Linked DNA regions of Homo sapiens: region 2 is linked to region 1. The links are contacts of gene promoters, found by promoter capture Hi-C in human tissues and cell types (Jung and others, 2019). All regions are on one chromosome and are shown on one strand. The core of a region is centred on a gene start or on the middle of the fragment in contact, and the rest is flanking DNA. Distances in the headings are between cores, read along the strand shown. Region 1 holds the start of RNF113B (ring finger protein 113B). Region 2 overlaps FARP1 (FERM, ARH/RhoGEF and pleckstrin domain protein 1).

Evidence for each region. Contacts are between HindIII fragments. The study calls those that stand out against the background at their distance.
Region 2: a fragment that was not itself captured here is called in contact with the fragment with the promoter of RNF113B in region 1 in 2 of the 25 tissues and cell types used here (IMR-90 fibroblasts and thymus).

What each region holds. Positions count from the first base shown.
Region 1 is chr13:98,175,828-98,178,648 of GRCh38, forward strand. It overlaps RNF113B (ring finger protein 113B), which reads right to left and starts at 1,442. Exons shown (of 2, transcript NM_178861.5): 1 at 455-1,442; 2 at 1-349. The coding sequence starts at 1,409. The coding sequence ends at 336. The region is part of intron 1 of FARP1 (FERM, ARH/RhoGEF and pleckstrin domain protein 1); the gene reads left to right. The HindIII fragment of the contact is 2,632 bases long and covers 1-2,246 here.
Region 2 is chr13:98,268,453-98,271,273 of GRCh38, forward strand. All of the region lies in intron 2 of FARP1 (FERM, ARH/RhoGEF and pleckstrin domain protein 1), which reads left to right. Among named protein-coding and RNA genes, the nearest start is that of MIR3170, 61 kb to the left of the region's middle. The HindIII fragment of the contact is 9,127 bases long and covers 1-2,821 here.

The sequences.
Region 1 (2,821 bases), core at 192-2,691:
AGGTTCATTCTAGTTGTAGCATGTGATCCTTAAAAGGATCAGTTTAAATCTTTAAAAGGATTTCCTTCCCGTTAAGGCTTAATAGCATTCCATTGTGTGTGTGTATCGCATTTTGTTTGTCCATTCATCCATCCATGGACACTTGGGTTGTTTACACCTCTTGGCTTTTGCAAATAATTCTGCAGTGAACATGGGAGTGCACATACCTCTTTGAGATCCGGATTTCAATTCTTTTGGTTACATACTCAGGCATGGGATTGCAGGAAGACTGTCATCTCTCTCATCTTACTCAACAGGCTGCTTCTCCCCAGTGTACATACAGACTTGAGTCTTTCTTATCTCTTTTTTCCTAAAAGAACAAAAAAATTTATTTAAATGTGAGAATTATGGGAAACCTAAGCCATGGGAATTGGACACTCATGGGGGTCTTCTGTGAAATGGGACTTGCCCCCACCTTCTGCAGCCTGAAGCTTTTGCAGTTTCGCCATCAGTTCTTTGGCGGGGTTAAAGATGCCGCCGGTTGGCTGGTCACAGATGTAGCAGCGCGGGGTGGCCCGGAAGTGCTCCAGCGCGCAGCTCTCGCAGAAATAATGCCTGCACTTGGTGACGACTGGGTTTTGGAAGGCCTGGCGACATATGAAACACCTGAATGGTATTTCCTCTTCCTCGCTTCCCACTTCATGGTTTTCGTCCTCGCAGATACAGTAGCGACCCTCTTCAAGCTCCCGTTCAATCTCCCACCCGAGCTTGTAATCGGAACGGTCGTGGAGGAATTTGCAGCTGTCCCCGAAGCCACAGAAGCCAGTCTCCTTGTAGTCCTTGCAGATGTCAGGCTGGTAATCCCAGCGCACAGTGGCGCGCAGATGCCCTGGCGCACGTATGGGGCCCTTCCTCGCCATCCCCGAGGAGGAGTTGCCCATGGACGTGTCCTTGGGCTTCAGGTACCTCAGGTAGCTGTGGATTCCCCGGTAGATGTGGTCGTGCTCCCGACCCCGCAGTGCCTCCTGGACCCGCTGGCTGCACTTGAGGATGGTCGGCGTATGGTGCTCCTTCTCGGTGTCCTGCTCGAAGTCAGCGGTGGCCCCCATGTCCTCTGGCCCCACAGGCTTCGCCGAGCGGGTGGACCTGTACACCACGTCGAGGCTCTCAGGCGCCGCCTCCTCGCCCCTCCTGTCGCCGTGAGCCGCCTTCTGCCAGCTGTGGAGGCCCCGGGGCCTCGGTGCCACCCGCGGGGGCTGAGCCACTGTGTCGCCCTCGTCCCCGCTGCTGCTGCTCTCTCCGTGCTCGGGGTCGCAGGCCGGGCGCTTTCTGAGGCCTGCAGCCCCTTTCCGTCCAGGCTTTTTGAAGAGGAAGGTGCATACCTGGTCTGCTTGGTCGGCCGTCCTTCCTGGAGAAGGTGGCGCTGCCATGTTTGAGTCTCAGGCTCCCAACGGCCGTGGCGTGCGTCACCCTTGCGTCGCCCTTGCGTCGCTGCACGTGGGGCGTGGGCCCTCCCAGTTCTAAAAAGCAAAAGCAAGTGAAAGAAAAGCTTCTGCTAGGCCAGGCGCGGTGACTCACTCTTGTAATCCCGGGACACTGGGAGGCCGAGGTGGGAGAATCACCCGAGGTCAGCAGTTTAAGACCAGCCTGGCCAACATAGCGAAACTCCATCCTTACTAAAAATACAAAAATTACCTGGGTGTGGTGGCGTGCGCCTGAAGTCCCAGCTACTAGGGAGGCTGAGGCAGAAGAATCGCTTGAACCCAGGAGGCAGAGGTTGTAGTGAGCCGAGATCACGCCACTGTACTCTAGCCTGGGTGACAGAGCGAGACCCTGTCTCAAATTAAAAAAAAAAAAACCAAAAAAAAAGGCTTCTCCCGCCCTTCCCTCCCTTGACCTGCCTCCTGGCCCTCAGATGGATTCCTTGAGAGAGTCATCTTCACTTGCTCCTCAGCTCCCTCAGTGCACACTCATTTTTCAACAGATTCCTAAAAGGCCACGGGTGGAATCATTCCAGGCCATAGCGAACCGGTGGTGCTCATCCTAAAACACAGGCGCTTGAAATGCGTATTTAAAAGCAACACACGCGCAGTGCAGAAAACAAAAACAGATACAAGCAAAAAGTAAGACGCCTATAATCCCTCCCCTCAAAGATAACCACTGTCAACACTTTTGTGTCTATTCTTTTAATATAGCCTTTATTAAAAGACTGTCATATCACACTGCACCTGTGGGTGTGTAGCTGGCTTTCATTTTGAAATAAAAGTAACACATGTAAACATTTAAAAAAATATTATCAAGCACTTATTGTAATGGAAATTGGCTGTCCCCTGCCTGGCCCCTCCACACGCCAATTCCTGGTACCTAAGATAATCATTTTTAATTTTTTTTTTTTTTTTTTTTTTTTGAGAAAGAGTCTCGCTCTGTCGCCCAGGCTGGAGTGCAGTTACATGATCCCGGCTCACTGCAACCTCTGCCTCCCGGGTTCAAGCAATTCTCCTGCCTCAGCCTCCTGAGTAGCTGGGATTACAGGTGTGTGCCACCACACCCAGCTAACTTCTGTGTTTTTAGTAGCGACAGGGTTTCACCATGTTGGCCAGGCTGGTGTGGAACTCCTGACCTCAGGTGATCCACCCACCTTGGCCTCCTAAAATGTTGGTATTACAGGCGTGAGCCACTGCACCCCGCCTTCAAATATTTTTAACCCTTTTTTTTCTTGAGTTTATCTTCAAGTTGTGAAATAATTCATTTATATAATGTAAATGGATTCTAGTTCTTATTTAGCCAGTGCATGTCATAAAGTGTTACATGCAATTTCTTTTTCTAATTTAGGTTCTATCTC
Region 2 (2,821 bases), core at 109-2,608, 93 kb after region 1:
AAGATTCTGTTTCTCCCTTCTCTTTTATTTTTTGAGATGGAGTCTCGCTCTGTCACCCAGGCTGGAGTGCAGTGGCGCGATCTCAGCTCACTGCAACCTCCACCTCCTGGGTTCAAATGATTCTCCTGCGTCAGCCTCCTGAGTACCTGGGATTACAGGCGCCCACCAACACGCCCGGCTAATTTTTGTATTTTTAGTAGAGACAGGGTTTCATCATGTTGGCCAGGATGGTCTCGAACTTCTGACCTCAAGTGATCCTCTTGCCTTGGCTTGCCAAAGTGCTGGGATTACAGGTGTGAGCTACTGCATCTGGCCTTTCCCTTCTTTGTGTGTGTGTGTGTGTGTGTGTGTGTGTGTGTGTGTGTGTATACAGCTTCCCAAGTAGCTGAGACTACAGGTATGTGCCACCACGCTCGGCTAATTTTTATTTATTTTTATTTTTTTATTTTTATTTTTATTTGTAGAAACGAGGTTTCGCCATATTCCCCAGGCTGGTCTTGAACTCCTGGGCTCAAGGGATACTCCTGCCTTGGCCTCCCAAAGTTCTGGGATTACAGGCATGAGCCATCATGCCCAGCCTCTCCCTTCTGGTAGCTGAGTTAAGGGACTCTGTGGATGGCTTTATTGTGCAGCTATAGTATTTAATAAATATTGGTAATTTACTGGCTTTGTTTTAATATTAAAATTATGGTAAAATGAACTGCCCTGACCCTTGATATGCTTGTTTCTACCCTACCTTCCCTCAGTCAGTCAACCTCATCTAAATATATCTCCCTGCAGTTCTAATGGTGATCTTTCTAGGTGAATGTCATGAGCTGCTTTTTGATGCTCTTTCATTATCTGTGAAAAAGGATAAAAGTAGTTAAGTGGATAACTTAAGTATAAACAAAATCTTCATGGATTCTTTTAGCAGGAAAATGAGCTTGAATTGAGTGGTCATTTCTGTTCATTAAGTTCAGATTTTGAGGCCCTCCCCGCCAAGATGATTCTAGTTACTAGTGCTTACATTCGTGTACTGTGTTCTAAGCCATTTGGCATCTCAACAGACTCATCCACAGCAGCCCTATGAAATTGATGGGGCAGATATTTCTATTTGCTTTTGGCAAATGAGGACATGAGGCTCATGAGGGGCCTGTCAGGCCCAGAAACACTGAACCTTGTCCCACTCTTGGGTCAACATAATATTTAGCTTTCAGTGACTGCTCATTCTTGACCTTGTTGTTTGTCAAGGAAGGGGTTGGGGAAGAGAAAATTTAATTTGTTACTATTTTTCTTAACTACTGGGACTATATTGCCTGAGTGAGTGGTCGGGGGGTGTCAGCGAAGATGTTGGTTCAGGTAAGAATAAAATTCAGTTGTTATTTATTTAAGACTTACCATGGGCTGGGCCCAGTGGCTCACGCCTGTAATTCCAGCACTTTGGAAGGCCGAGGTGGGTGGATCACTTTGAGTTCAGGAGTTTGAGACGGGCCTGAGCAACATGTCTCTACTAAAAATACAAAATTAGCCGGGCTTGGTAGTGCACGCCTGTAGTCCCAACTACTTGGGAGGCTGAGGCCAGAGAATCACTTGAACCTGAGAGGCGGAGGTTGCAGTGAGCTGAGATCACTGAATCTAACTGAAAGGCTTTTGAGAATAGGTAATTTTATAGAAGGAGAAATGCAGTACATAAAATTGGCTTTATGTTTATCTTGAATACCAAGAAAATTGTTTTTCTTGGGTAAATTTAGGTGATTTTCCAGTGGTGCTTTCTTGCACATTTGACCATAGAAGAACATGTGTTAAGCCCATCCCTTCTCATTTGGTCAAGGTCCATCCTTGGTCTCTATGACAGTTGAATGAAGATTGAGCTGTTCACACATCCTCAGTAATATACAAGTAGTATATCCGTCAAAAGGGTTTTGTGCTTATTTTCCAAGAGCTCTCGGTGCTCTAAATTCTTTATATGAACATGTAAGATTGCACATCTGGTTTTAAATGTGGACATGGGCATTGTAGGGTCCTGGTTTTTAAACTATTCATGACTTACAATGCCTCAGCGTATCTTCCTTGGGAGAATTCATTTTGTTGAATGCTCATCCTGAGGACGCAGCTCCCTTCCTAGAAATGAGGTAGCTCCTGGCACCTTGAGAGTTCCTCTGTGTGCAGGAAACCGATGAGTTTGCAGATACCAGCTTCATGATAGCCTGACTGAAACTTGTTGAGGAGCAATGCAGGATGGTGAATATTTTCATGATCTAGATCAGTTAACTCATCCTGCACATGGCTAACTTTATGTCATGAGAACAGATTTCTTAGCCTGAGAATTGGGACAACTTAGAAATTGGGAAACTAAGCATGTATATCTTTTAATTTTTTTCTTTTCTCTCTTCTCTTCTAAATGGAACATTCACGCAAGGCAGTGTACAGAGATGGTGTGGTATACTGCAGAGAGCAGGGGCCCCGAGGGCAGGCCAGGGTACGAGTCTAGATGCCACCCTCTGAGCCATCGTTTCTTCACGGTTTTACATTGCTGTCCTCTGAATCAGAAATCATGATGTAAGACGAGGCGAATTGCAGTTGTGTGAGCTCTCTTTTCATGAAGACGATTATACATTTTGCTGATGTCTCAATAATTTCCCAAGTCAGGATGACAGAAGAGCTGAAAGCAGCCTACTTAGGATTATTCAAGGAAATGAAAGAACTGTTTCCTTCATTCATAAACACCTGAGAGTCTGCTCTGGCTTAGACACTACGCTAGTTGTTGAGAAACAACTCAACAAATTAGGCCGAGAATCTGCCCTAATGAAATCTAGAGTTTGGAAGAGAGAACACATCTACA